Linked DNA regions of Homo sapiens: regions 2 and 3 are each linked to region 1. The links are contacts of gene promoters, found by promoter capture Hi-C in blood cells and fetal thymus (Javierre and others, 2016). All regions are on one chromosome and are shown on one strand. The core of a region is centred on a gene start or on the middle of the fragment in contact, and the rest is flanking DNA. Distances in the headings are between cores, read along the strand shown.

The links. The method cuts DNA at HindIII sites, captures the fragments that hold promoters and counts their contacts. A CHiCAGO score of 5 or more calls a contact.
Region 2: a contact is called between a fragment that was not itself captured here and the fragment with the promoter of CD300LB in region 1, in 1 of 17 cell types (monocytes). The highest score is 8.9, in monocytes.
Region 3: a contact is called between the fragment with the promoter of GPRC5C here and the fragment with the promoter of CD300LB in region 1, in 4 of 17 cell types (monocytes, M2 macrophages, neutrophils and 1 more). The highest score is 5.7, in monocytes.

What each region holds. Positions count from the first base shown.
Region 1 is chr17:74,529,609-74,533,673 of GRCh38, forward strand. CD300LB (CD300 molecule like family member b) reads right to left here and starts at 1,867. Exons shown (of 4, transcript NM_174892.4): 1 at 1,703-1,867. The coding sequence starts at 1,742. LOC107985074 (a long non-coding RNA gene) reads left to right here. Exons shown (of 3, transcript XR_007065902.1): 2 at 2,939-3,033. The HindIII fragment of the contact is 3,995 bases long and covers 1-2,503 here.
Region 2 is chr17:74,639,769-74,643,833 of GRCh38, forward strand. No RefSeq gene overlaps it. Among named protein-coding and RNA genes, the nearest start is that of CD300E, 18 kb to the left of the region's middle. The HindIII fragment of the contact is 7,428 bases long and covers 1-4,065 here.
Region 3 is chr17:74,430,275-74,434,339 of GRCh38, forward strand. GPRC5C (G protein-coupled receptor class C group 5 member C) reads left to right here and starts at 1,814. Exons shown (of 4, transcript NM_022036.4): 1 at 1,814-1,867. RefSeq lists a silencer at 687-826. The HindIII fragment of the contact is 4,765 bases long and covers 1-4,065 here.

The DNA of each region.
Region 1 (4,065 bases), core at 617-3,116:
GGTGAAATCCTGTCTCTACTAAAATTACAAAAATTAGCCAGGCATGGTGGCAGGCACCTTAATCCCAGCTTCTTGGGAGACTGAGGCAGAAGAATCACTCGAACCTGGGAGGCGGAGGTTGCAGTGAGCCAAGGTTGCACCACTGCACTCCAACCTGGGTGACAGAGTGAAACTCCGTCTCAAAAACAAAAAACAAAAACAAAAACAAAATACCCAAAAACATAAATTGGATTTGTCAGCAATCACTAACAGCAGAAAAGAGATGCTGCTGCATTGAACAAAGTGTCATCAATCCCAGCTTCAGTCATTCAAACTGTAAATGGCTCACGATGTAATTAGTCCCGTTTAAAAAAATATTTGGGGGTTTCTCTAACCACAGAATATGATGGCTGGAACTATTAATCAGGCTTCTATATGTTGTCAAGAGTTGGTATGAGGAACGATAGAGATGGAAATGACAGGGCAGCCGTCAGCTTGGAGCAGAGCCCCGTTGAACGGGCTGAAGGGTGGAAGTCCAGCCAGGACTGGAGTCGGGTCTCAGAACTCCCCAGCCATGCTCTTTCCTGTTGTCCCTCCGTGGACTGCTCTATCTGTGCCAGATGGTCAGTCCCTAGGCACCAGCAGAAAACTGTGTGGCCCACACACATTGCACACCCTGCGTAAAATTCTAGATTGTCCCCTAATGCCCTCTAGGTGTCCACCAAGGTTTGCCATGGAGAAGATCATCTAGCCCTTCCCACTTTCCACCTGGGTTCTTGAGAAGTTTTTTCTTTGAAAGTCTCAGCTCCTGAGCCTGGCGTGGATGGCCTTCATAATCTTGTCTTTTGTGTTTCCAACCTCATATCCAACTCGCCACCTCCAAGACATCCTGCACACTGACAGCTCCCTCTGCATGAATCCACCATTCTTTCTAAGCCTCCATCTCTCTGCCCAGGTCCCCCAACACACACACACACACACACACACACACACACACACACACACCCAACTCTCTAGAGTGTTCTCCTCTCAGCTCTGCTCCAGAGACTGACCTTCCTTCTACAAGGCACATCAAGTGCACAGCTTCGTGAGTCTTTCTCTAGTCACCAGAGAGAACTGCTTCATCCTCCGCACACGCCTCCACCAATGCCTTATTGTGTCCTGCAATTGCTCATTGTTTATGTGTATGTCTCACCCACTAAGCCATCTGGAGTCTTTTTACTTTATTTTTTTTTTGAGACAAGGTCCCACTGTATCACCCAGGCTGGAGTGCTGTGGTGCGATCATAACTCTGCAGAATTGAATACCTGAGCTCAAAGGATCCTCCAGCTTCAGCCTCCCAAGTAGCTGGGACTACAGGCACGGTCACCACGCCCAGCTAATTTTTGTTCATTTTATATAGAGACGAGGTCTCACCATGTTGCCCAAACTGGTCTTAAACGCCTGGACTCAAGCAATCCTCCCACCTTGGCCTCCCAAAGTGTTAGGATTATAGGTGTGAGCCATGGCCTCAAGCCTGGAGTCTTCTTTAATGGCCAGTTCTCCTCCTCTTTTTTCTTGATGTCCTCAGGCCCCGAAGCACACGATGTCAGTCCCCAGTGCACCTTTGTCGAATGACTTCACAAAGCCACCTCTCATTTCCCTGGATGTGGAAGGACAAATGCCCTCTGCCTCCTGCCCTGCCCCTGTCATACCAAGCGCCCAAGGCCCCAGCCCCACTCACCTGAGAGGCTGAGAAGGAGCAGAGCAGGGGGCAGCCACATGGCTCTGCCTTCCCGGCTCCTCGTCCGCCTGATCTGCAACCAGTGGCAAATGCAGATCCCAGATGCACTCTGGAAGTTCTGCCTGAGCTCTGGCTTGCACCTTCTGCACATCTAGACCGCCTTTGACTTTCTTACTCATTCACTTCCTTTTATAGAGTGGGTAGTTCCTGCTTTTAATTATTAAACGAAAGAGGTGTCATTTTTTGGCAGGGCTGCGCCACAGGGCTTAAGCATCGTCACTATGTAAAAAAGAGGAGGGAGGGGACTGTGCAGGGTCTTTAGGGTAGGGGGAGATACGTCTGCAGAAGGGGTGGGGTGGGGGGCGTCTGGCCTAGCAGGCCTTGGGTCCAAGGGGTATAACACTCTGGGAGTCAATTTCAGAGCTGTTCTATACCACAGTGAACACCCAACTCAGATGTCGGATGGGTCATGCTGGGCACACCTGAACATGCATTTGTTCAGGTGTTATAGCCAAGTGCATAAACATGCAGACTGTTGGGTCAGACAGACCTGGCTCTAACCCCACGAGCACCACCTACAAGCTGCGTGACTGTGGACAATGCAATCAACATCTCTGTGCCTCAGTTATTGTATCTATTAACTGGGCTCATAATGTTTGTTGTTGTTATAGGAGTTATTAAGAAATTATTTTAGGTAGATAGGAAAAGGGGTGCTTGGGAAGATTTTTTTTTCTTTTAAAGCAGCTCCATAAATGTTTCTTGTCTAGAAGAAAAGCCCTGGCTCTTAGAGCTGGGCAGGCAAGCTTTGATATGCAAATACAGGCCATTAGAAACTGCGTCCACCCAAACATGGAGACTCCCGCCTCTTCTTCTTTTCCCCACGTTCCTGGCAACATGGCCGCCCCTACATACACCCATGTGTGTAGAACATCATGGCGCCTGTATTTGCATATTAAAAGGCTAGGGTAGGAAGGCTAGTTTTTTCGTGGGCTACTTGAATGACATACCTGGTCAAACCAATCCCCTGGGCCCTATGCAAATCAGGTACCGCCTCCTCCAGCCTCCTCATATAACTGGCTGTTTTCCACCGTACTCGAGGTTCCCTCTTTCAGCTTGGAGCCCGCCTCCCTCAGTCTCAGAACAGGGGGAGCCTCTTCCTTCCTTCTTTCTTGTCTATTAAATTCTCCACTCCTTAAAACCACTCCACGTGTGCCCATGTTGTTTTATTCAAACCAGTGGGAGACCAAGGACCCTAGTGTTCCTCCAGTCATCAGAGCCATACCATTTTGTTGCATTGGCCGGGAATCCAAGGTACGACACTCATCGGAGTGGTAAGTATGGGAGTGAGCTTAAAATCTCTTCTATCATTCCGAGGCACTCTTAGCCTCTATTTTAAAATAAAATAAGTCAATGGGCATCCGTCAGCCGGGTACATACACTTAGTGTTGGCTGCCATACTGAAGACTCGAATGTGAGGCTTGCTGCTGAGAACACGGAGAACCCCCCAACACCCCTGGGTCATTGGGAATGTTGGCCATGTTTTAAATCAGCTTCTTTTCACGGGAAGACCTCGCCATTGTGCAAGGCTGGGAAAAGTTCTAAGGCAACTAACAATTTCTGGCCAGAGCACACCCTGGCATGATTCAAAGGCCCCTGGACTGGACCCAGCCTCTGGCGGCCCATTCTGGGTGTTGGCAAAGAATCCTCAACTATCTTGTCACAAAACTCTCCTTCCTTCTCTATCTGCGGTCTCTTACACTTTCTTTGTGTGAAATGTGTAGCGAGTTTTACAGCCTAGGAAAGTAATCCTGTTAGGCAAAATCAGGAAGATGCCCTTGCAATCTTCTAGGAACAGAGTTCTCCCCTTTCTCCCACCGTGAGGTTACTCACTACCACGTCTCTAGTGAGCACATAGTATTTCTAAGCCAACAGTGCCACCTAGTAGAAATAGAAATCCTCTACATAAAGCATATTTTTTCATGGCAAACCGCAGCTTCTTTTTGCATGATTAGAAATCAGGCTCGGCCAGGCGCGGTGGCTCATGCCTGTAATCCCAGCACTTTGGGAGGCCGAGGCGGGCAGATCATGAGGTCGGGAGATCGAGACCATCCTGGCTAACACAGTGAAACCCCGTCTCTACTAAAAATACAAAAAAAAATTAGCCAGGCGTGGTGGCGGGCGCCTGTAGTCCCAGCTACTCGGGAGGCTGAGGCAGGAGAATGGCGTGAACCCGGCAGGCAGAGCTTGCAGTGAGCCGAGATCGCGCCACTGCACTCCAGCCTGGGCAACAGAGCAAGACTCGGTCTCAAAAAAAAGAAAAGAAAAGAAAAGGAAAGAGAGAGAGAGAGAGAAAGAAAGAACAA
Region 2 (4,065 bases), core at 725-3,224, 110 kb after region 1:
TGGACTTGGCGTTATGCAAGAGCAGTGTCGATCAGGAACGGGAAACAAGAAGGTTTTTGTGGTTATGACCGAAACCATCTGCTCACATCAGCCCATTTGTGGCTTTTATTTCTTTTTTTAATACTCAATTTGAGCAGAGAGCAGGCTGAGAAAGGAGTGCTGGCATCAGGAGCTGGCAGCGTTAGAAGCACCTATGCAGAGGGACAAAAGCCCCAAAGTGAGCGACTGCTGGGCTTCGAGCCCCAGTGCCCCCCACCTCACCACGCCCATGACTCCTGCATCTTCCTCCGAGACCCACCCTGCACAGCTGACTCACTTGCCTTCGTCTGTGCAAATAACTTCCCCATGGGTCTCCTTTTTCATTTGCTTCTCTCCCCTTTATTTCAGGCTACTAAGGGATGCAACGTTGACGGTGCTAAGCAGAGCCTAGAATAGGAGAGAGGGCTCTCCAGAAAAGACCTGGAACATTAGAGATGAGCAATGCCACTGTTAGGAGCCCATGGGTCCCGCCCTAAGCCTCCGAGGCCTCTCCTTCACCTTCATATCCACACCAGACAGGGCTGGTGAGCGAATTCTGGAGGATTCAAGGCGAGAGAGAGTCCCCTGTGTTCTTAACTTCGGGGAGCTGAGGTCACAGATACACTTGAGATTGTAACAAAAGCTATACACCCATGCCCTAGGAAAACACACACATACACTGAGTTTCGCATATCCTATTAAAAGAATCTCCAGAGTCTTTCTATGTATTCCTAGCTAGGACCCCCCACCCTGGCAGGGCGCGGTGGCTCACACCTGTAATCCCAGCACTTTGGGAGGCCAAGGCGGGTGGATCACATGAGGCCAAGAGTTGGAGACCAGCCTGGTCAACATGGTGAAACCCTGTCTCTACTAAAAATACAAAAGTTAGCTGGGCATTGGTGGTGGGTACCTGTAATCCCAGCTACTTGGGAGGCTGAGGCAGGAGAATCCCTTGAACCCGAGAGGAGGAAGTTGCAGTGAGCCAAGATCGTGCCATTGCACTCCAGCCTGGGTGACAAGAGCAAAACTCCAACTCAAAAAAAAGAAAAAGAAAAAAGAAACAGATGAGAGAGATATGACTCTGATGCTAGAACAGAGGAGGAGCCTGCAGAAGGTGTGCAAGCACACATGTGCGCACGTGCACACACATACCAGCTGTCAGACACAGTCTGTGCTCTTTGGGAAGGAGGGTGGGGGTTACAGGACACTCCCATGTGACAAAACAGCAATCATCCCATGTCCCCTGGGTGCATAAAAACATCTCTCTTTGCACACCAGCACACAGCCACATCTTCCTTGCTGGGGTTCTTTGTGACCACTGTGAAAAAGCATTTGCCAGGGCTGTCTTGATGGTACACGGCGCTCCTCTCCTGACCTCAGGTGGTCCACCCACCTCAGCCTCCCAAAGCTCTGGGATTACAGGCGTGAGCCACCGCACCTGACCCAGACCCTGCATTCCTTTCCCCACTGGGCTTCTCTAATGTTCAGAACAACTCAAATCCATTTGTGCATTCTGCTGCCGCATATGGAGGCCCTGCTAAGTGTGAGTCCTACTTTGTGTTTGCAGCTGCAGACCTCATGCTGAGCAAGACTTCGCCTGGCCCTGGAGGGGCTCCCCACTACACCCTGGGTTGCCTCTGTGCCCTCTGGACTACCAGGCCTGGCTTAGTCGCTTTCCTTGGGCCTCTGTTTGTTATCAGCAGAGCCCACCCATCTGAGGCTGGAGCCTGAAACTCTAGTCATCCCTCTGATTCCCTCATCCTCTCCCCAGTGCACCCCAGCCCCACCCACCTCCCCTTCCCCAGCCACTAGGCCTGCTGTTCCTCATGCTCCCACCAGCCTCCCCCACCCCACTCCCCGGACCCAGGATGTCCAGGAGGGGCAGATGTGTCACTGTGTCTCTTTGCTCTCTCTGCCTCATCTGCCAACATTTGGGGAGCTTCTGTCAGCTGGACTGAAACTGGCTTTCATGTTTCTTACTACTCCCTTGCGTCTCTCTTTTCTACACCTCAGTTTTGTTGTTTTCCCATTGCATCAATGTTTATACGTAGAGCTGTTCAGAAAAAGCAGAAGCTGGAGACAGGAAAACTACTAATCACAACAGAAACTTTGTGGCTTTAATTCTCATAATAATTAGCATCACAGGGCACCCACCCAGTTTCTCAAGAGCCTACAACTTCCAAAAACAGACAAGTTAAGTCACATTTTTATGTATCATTGTGTCTTCAAATATACTAATCCAGCAGATTTATCTGACATCAAAACAGGGAGTTGGATGTTCAGAGGGCAAATCTTACCCAAAAATTGCTGACACAGCCCCTAACATGTTACATTATTATTAATTGGACAGTCACTTAATGAGCGTCTACTAAGTAAAGGCGCTGTGTATACAAAGAAGAAGGAGAGATCATGATTCTGTCAGGATCCTGGGAGTGGGCCAATGGCAGGCTCAGTTGGTATAACAGAATAATCTAATGCAGGGGAAATTTACAAAGAGAAGGAAAGAGTTAAGTGAAATCAACAAGAGATGGAGAAAAAACAGGACTAGCAACAGCAGTAGGGCCACGACACCTCTAACACAGGGAGAGGTGTCAGAAATAACCAGAACCCACAGGAACTGTAGGACAGGACCATGCCACAGGGGCTGTGACCTCAAAGTAGGAAAACGGACACTCCAGCCCAGCAGGGTGGCACCTGGGCAGGAGAAACTCTCACCTTCCTTTCTCCTGCTGGCACCACCCATTGCCATTCCTTGGAAAGAAAATAAATCTTGGGACCCCAAACTCACTAAGCCAAAGGAAAAAGTCAAGCAGGGAACTGGGTCATGCAAACCTACCTCCCATGTTGGTTCCTAAATGAGATGGTGACAAGGATGACAGGCTACCAACCTCCCTCACATTGTGGTCTTTAAAGCGTTTCTGTTAAATTTCCCCATGCCAATGTAAACTGATAGCTTATCTTCACAGGTGCGAGACACAGGACAGAACTCAAAGTCATTCCTCTGCCCACCTGAGACAAACGCATATCTGACTGTTTCCTCTGCCCTGTTGTTTACGTTATCTTAGGTAAAAATGCAGATTCACTGAGCCAGACAAAGGCCTGAATGGCTATTTTCCCCACCTCCCCTCTCACAAGAAAATTGTGTATTTCTCAATATCCCACCCTTTCCCTTTTAAATATTGAAGCCCCCAAAATCATCTTCAGAGAAAGGTATAGACCTGTCTCCCAGGCGCGTTTCCTTAACTTTGGCAAATAAACTTCCTAAAATGATTGAGACTTGCCTCAGTCATTTTCCTCCATTGACAACCTGAGCCCAACCAGAAGCCAGAGTGAGGTTATCTATGTTCCCCTCTCCAATAAGAATAGAAACCCCCACTCCAGAGCAGGTGCGGTGTCTGACTCATCTTCATATCCCAGCAGTAAGTACAGTGACCAGCTCACCGCGGGTGCTCAGTAAATGCATGCTGTGTGAAGAGATGAATGAGTGAATGTCCGTCCACTCAGCAACCTTGCAGCCAGGTGTGGTTGCTCATGTCTGTAATCCTAACATTTTGGGAGGCCAAGGCGAGTGGATCACTTGAGACCAGGAGTTTGAGACCAACCTGGCCAATATGGTGAAACCCTGTCTCTACTAAAAACCCAAAAATTAGCCAGGTGTGGTGGTGCGTGCCTGTAATCCCAGCTACTCAGGAGGCTTGAACCCAGGAGATGGAGGTTGCAGTGAGCCAAGATTGCGCCACTCTACTCCAACCTGGGTGACAGAGCAAGACTCTGTCTCCAAAAAAAAAGAAAAAGAAAGAAGAAAGAAAGAAAGAAAGAAAGAAAGAAAGAAAGAAAGAAAGAAAGAAGAAAGAAAGAAAGAAAGAAGAAAGAAAGAAAGAAAGATTCTTACAAACTATAAGATACTAAATTATCTAAAATTATTTCAAAATAAAGAAGGAGGTTTTGATGCTATATGCAGGTAAGAAAGGTTGGAATTAATCTCTGGAATAACACACATGATTTTCTCAATTCCTGTACTAAGCACATATGCATGGCTCCAGAAAT
Region 3 (4,065 bases), core at 564-3,063, 99 kb before region 1:
TGCTAATGAGCGGCCCCTCCCAGCACACTGTGTTCAGCACCAGTTGCCTGCTTCACGAGAACTAGTCCCAGCCCACAGTCACGGATGCCCCTCGCCTAGGTCTGACCCGCCGTTTGCCTTTCTAGCGTTGGCACTCAACTGCTTGGACCCTACAAGCGTTTGCCTCCCTGGCATGGGGGCCTCTGAATCTTAGGGTGGGAGGTGGAGCTACGGAAGGGAGCCCAGGAGTGAGCAACAGATCAGCAGCAGCACTGCGCCCCTCTTCTTAATATTGAAGAGACTTGAAACAATTCAGTCTTCGCCACCCCAGACCAGCCCGTGAGGGCAAGGCCAGGAAGGGATACAGGGTTCTAGAGAACCAGGGCCTCACCGCCAGCTCCGGCCGCTAAGCAAACATTCCCTCCAGGAGTCCGAGAAGCCGGTGTGCGAGGGGAGGAACCAGCCTGAGGTTTATCGCTCCAGCAACTCCGGGTGATTCATAGAGTTTAGACTCCCGGTTGTCGTAGACCGCGGCAGGCACGCAAACAAGCAGCCCGGGAGATACCCTCCCCTTTCCCAGCCCCCGCTCCTCCACCTTGCTACCCCCTAGCCCGTGACCAGCTGCCTCCCCTCCCCCTCGCGGGCGCTCAGGGTTGAGCAAACACTCCGGGCCGCCCGCCCCGCCACCAGCTGGCTCCGACCGGCGCACCGCTGGCGATCCCCCAGGCAATTCGGCGTCATGAGAACCGGCACCCCGAGACTCGGCGCCCTGCCCTCCCTCCGCGTCTCCAGGGCCCTGGCCAGGCCCAACAACCTCTCCCTCCTCTGTGCGCCTCAGCCCCTACGGGCCTCTGGCGCGGGCTAACTAGGCCTCGCTGCGGGCCCCCAGGACTGCGCACCCCACCCCCCGCGAGGCCAGCAGCCCCGGGGGAAGGCGGCCGGAAAATCTCTTGTTTATCGGGCTGGATAAGTACCAGCCTGGATTCGCTTCCCAATTTCTGCGGTCCAGCTTCAGCAGATTCCTGGGGCCGGAGGGGAAAGGGTGGCAACCCACAGATCCACCCCGGAACAGGGAGTGGGGGGTGGGGCTGGTGGGAACCTGACCTCCTGGAAAGGACGGACTCGGAGTCAGAGCCAACGTGTCCCGGAGCGCAGAGGCCCAGGGGGTCGCGCTAAACACTGTACCTCGGGGAACAAAACCGTGAAGGCTAATTAGGACAAGTCGGAGCAGGGAACGGGGACGCCGGGAGGGGAGAGCGCGCTCCGAGTTGGGCAGAACCTGGAACGGTCACAGGAAACCCGGGCGCGGGGTAGTCGGGCCGAGGGGGACCTTTGCCCACGGTCCAGAGTGGTCTGGACTCGGCCCACGCGTGAGAGGAGCGCTTGGTGACGATCCCACGTACGCTTGGTGACTGGTGGAGGTCCCAGAGAAGGACCGTGCGTGCAAAAGGCGAACCTCGGTGTGCGGTGTGTCCACGTGTGCAAGCTGGGGAGGGGAGGGGGCGCAGAAGGCGTGACAAAGACGGACTCTGTCTTGAGTGTGCGCCTCGCTCCGGCCCGCTCCCAGCGAACTGTGCCTGAAGTGTGTCTCACGGGAGGGCCAGGACGAAGGTGACAAAGGCTAGGTGTCCCCCACGGAGACGCGCCAAGGTAGCCCCGCGCGTGTCCGTAGGCGCGCTCTCTGGAAGACGCGGTGGGGGGTGCGCAGGGCTGCACCCTCACACCAATTGCCCCGGCGAAGGCCGAGCCCAGAAAGTGAGTGCGCGTGAGTGTGCGCGCGCCCGCATGCGGGGGCGTGGCAGTCAACAGCAACAACCCACACGCCGGCAGGGCCAGAAACTCCCATCTCCCTCACCAGCCGGAAAGTACGAGTCGGCTCAGCCTGGAGGTGAGTCGGGGCGGGGAGGGCCGGGCAGGCTTTGTTCCTGTGTAAACGGAGCGCACGTACCTGGAGCGCGGCGGGCGCCCGATTAGCGCCCTGAATGGAGGTGATGTAACGGTGATGCAGGCTCCAGCCCACCCTCGCCGAAAGCAAGGAGCCCTGCCTGGGGACAGGCCCGCGCGAGAGCGAGCAACCCAGCGCGCCTGGCTCAGCCTCGGTCCCAGGGAGAGGCAGGCCCTGCGTCCCGGCCCGGGCCCCGCCATCCCAGCCAGGACCGGGCCTGGCCCAGCGCCCCGCGCCGCGTCCCTCCCACCCCCGCCCGCCCCCCGCCTGGGGCTGGAGTTGGCCCCAAACGCTGCGCTGGAGCGGGGCCGGCGGCGAGTCCCAGGTAAGGGCTGCTGCCTTCCCGCTCCGCCGCCCGGAAGAGTCGGGTCGGGACGGCGGGGAGTGGGCGAGGGCAGAGGCGGGGGGACTGGACATCCTGCGGGCTGGGGACGCCGCGCCAACTCCGCTCGGTCGCTGAAAGTTTTCAAACCCGAGCCGGCTGGGGACTGGGGGGGTGGGGGAGCCCGGCGCTGCGGCTCGGGCTGGAGGGAGGGGAAACCACTCCATAATCGGGGTCTCCAAGAGGAGCCCCTCCACCGCCTGCCTCTCGGTGGGAGTCCGCGGTCACTCTCTCTCGTGGGTGGCGTCCTCTCTGCCGCCTGCTACTGTGGATGTGGAGGGCAGGTTTCTGTGGCCCTAAAAATGGGAGAGAGTGACTGGTTCCCTTGCTCCCCATTCCAGCCACCCAGGGAGCGCAGGTGTAGACCCCAGTACCGTCGACCCAAGTAGGGACGAGAGGGTTCAGAATCCCCCTGAGGGAAGTTTGGAAATTCAGACTATCAAAGCGCCTCCCCTTCTGGTAGCCTGGCCCCTAGATCCCGAACCCCCACTCCCGGCTGGCTTTTCCAGCGTCCTTTGCACCTCCATCCCCAGGCCCGCAGTGTTACACGCTGGAAGACCCAATCACTTACAAACTCCACGATCAAGATCCTAAAGCCCGGGAGAGGAGACTGTTGGAAGTAGGGTTTTGTGCTCCTGGAGCTTCCTCTCCCCGCCGGCCCCCCACCCCTGTGCCTTCAACTGGACTGGGGGAGGGAGTGCATTGGGGGGTGGGGCGCATTCCAGAGTGACATTCCAGAGCAGACCCTTGAAGATTTCCAAGTCTCAGAGAGCTCAGGGCATTTTGGCCCAAATGCCTGGTCTTGGTGCGGGGCAGGGGCAGGGGGATAGGGGTGGGGTGTCTAGGCTGAGGTTCGAGGAACCCCAACCCACCCCCCACCAACCTACACACTGAGGCCGCTCCTTCCAGGCACAGGCGTCTCCTGTGCGCCTTCTTATCGATGGGGTAAACGCCTGAGCGCCCTGCACAGAGGGGTGAGACAGTGGGACCTAACCAGGGACTGGGAGAGACCGATAGGAGTGGAGGCAGGAAGGCTGTCAGTCGGGCCATCGTCTTTCCCTATAGGCTCTTGAGTGTGTGGGATGGGAGGAAGGCAAGTGCTCTGTGGTATCCCTGGGGGAACCTCCCTGAAGAGTGCCCTGGTCACAGCACCCTTGAAGACAGCCATTGGCCATGGGTCAGTGTTGAGTTTGGTTGGCCCTGTGACGCGCTGGAGCTCTCTTTCCAGTGCGGTATCCTTGGCCCTGGTGGGTGGAGGGGGTCTCAGGCTTGTGTGTGGATGATGCTGGAGCGAGGAAGGGAGTTTTGCTCTGGAGAAGTGAGAAGGCCTGGCTGTCTCCCCGGTTGCTGGATGAAGCCACTTGTTGCTGGGGGAAACCAGTCAGGGCTGCTTGGGCCTCTGGGCCTCTGAGCCTCTGAGCCCACCAGGCCTCTGCGCCCCCTGGAGAGAGAAGGAGGGAGGAGGGAGGTTCAGCAACTGGACTGCACTGACTCACAGGAGAGCTGGGGGCAGGGTGGCTGAGCCTGGGGAAAGGCCGATTTCGGAGGCGATTAAAAATATTTGTACAACTGATTCCAGGGAAGTGAAGCAAAAGGCCCTTTTGTCCAGAAAATAATCTGAGGCTGGAGCTGGGCTTCAGCTGTGGGGTGGGGGAGACTCAGGGCGGAAGGAGGTTCCCCTCCTACCCCCCTCCTTGAACCCTCTGAGAATCTTTAAGCAGAAGATGCAACTCCAACATGGAGGGGACAACCCTGGGTG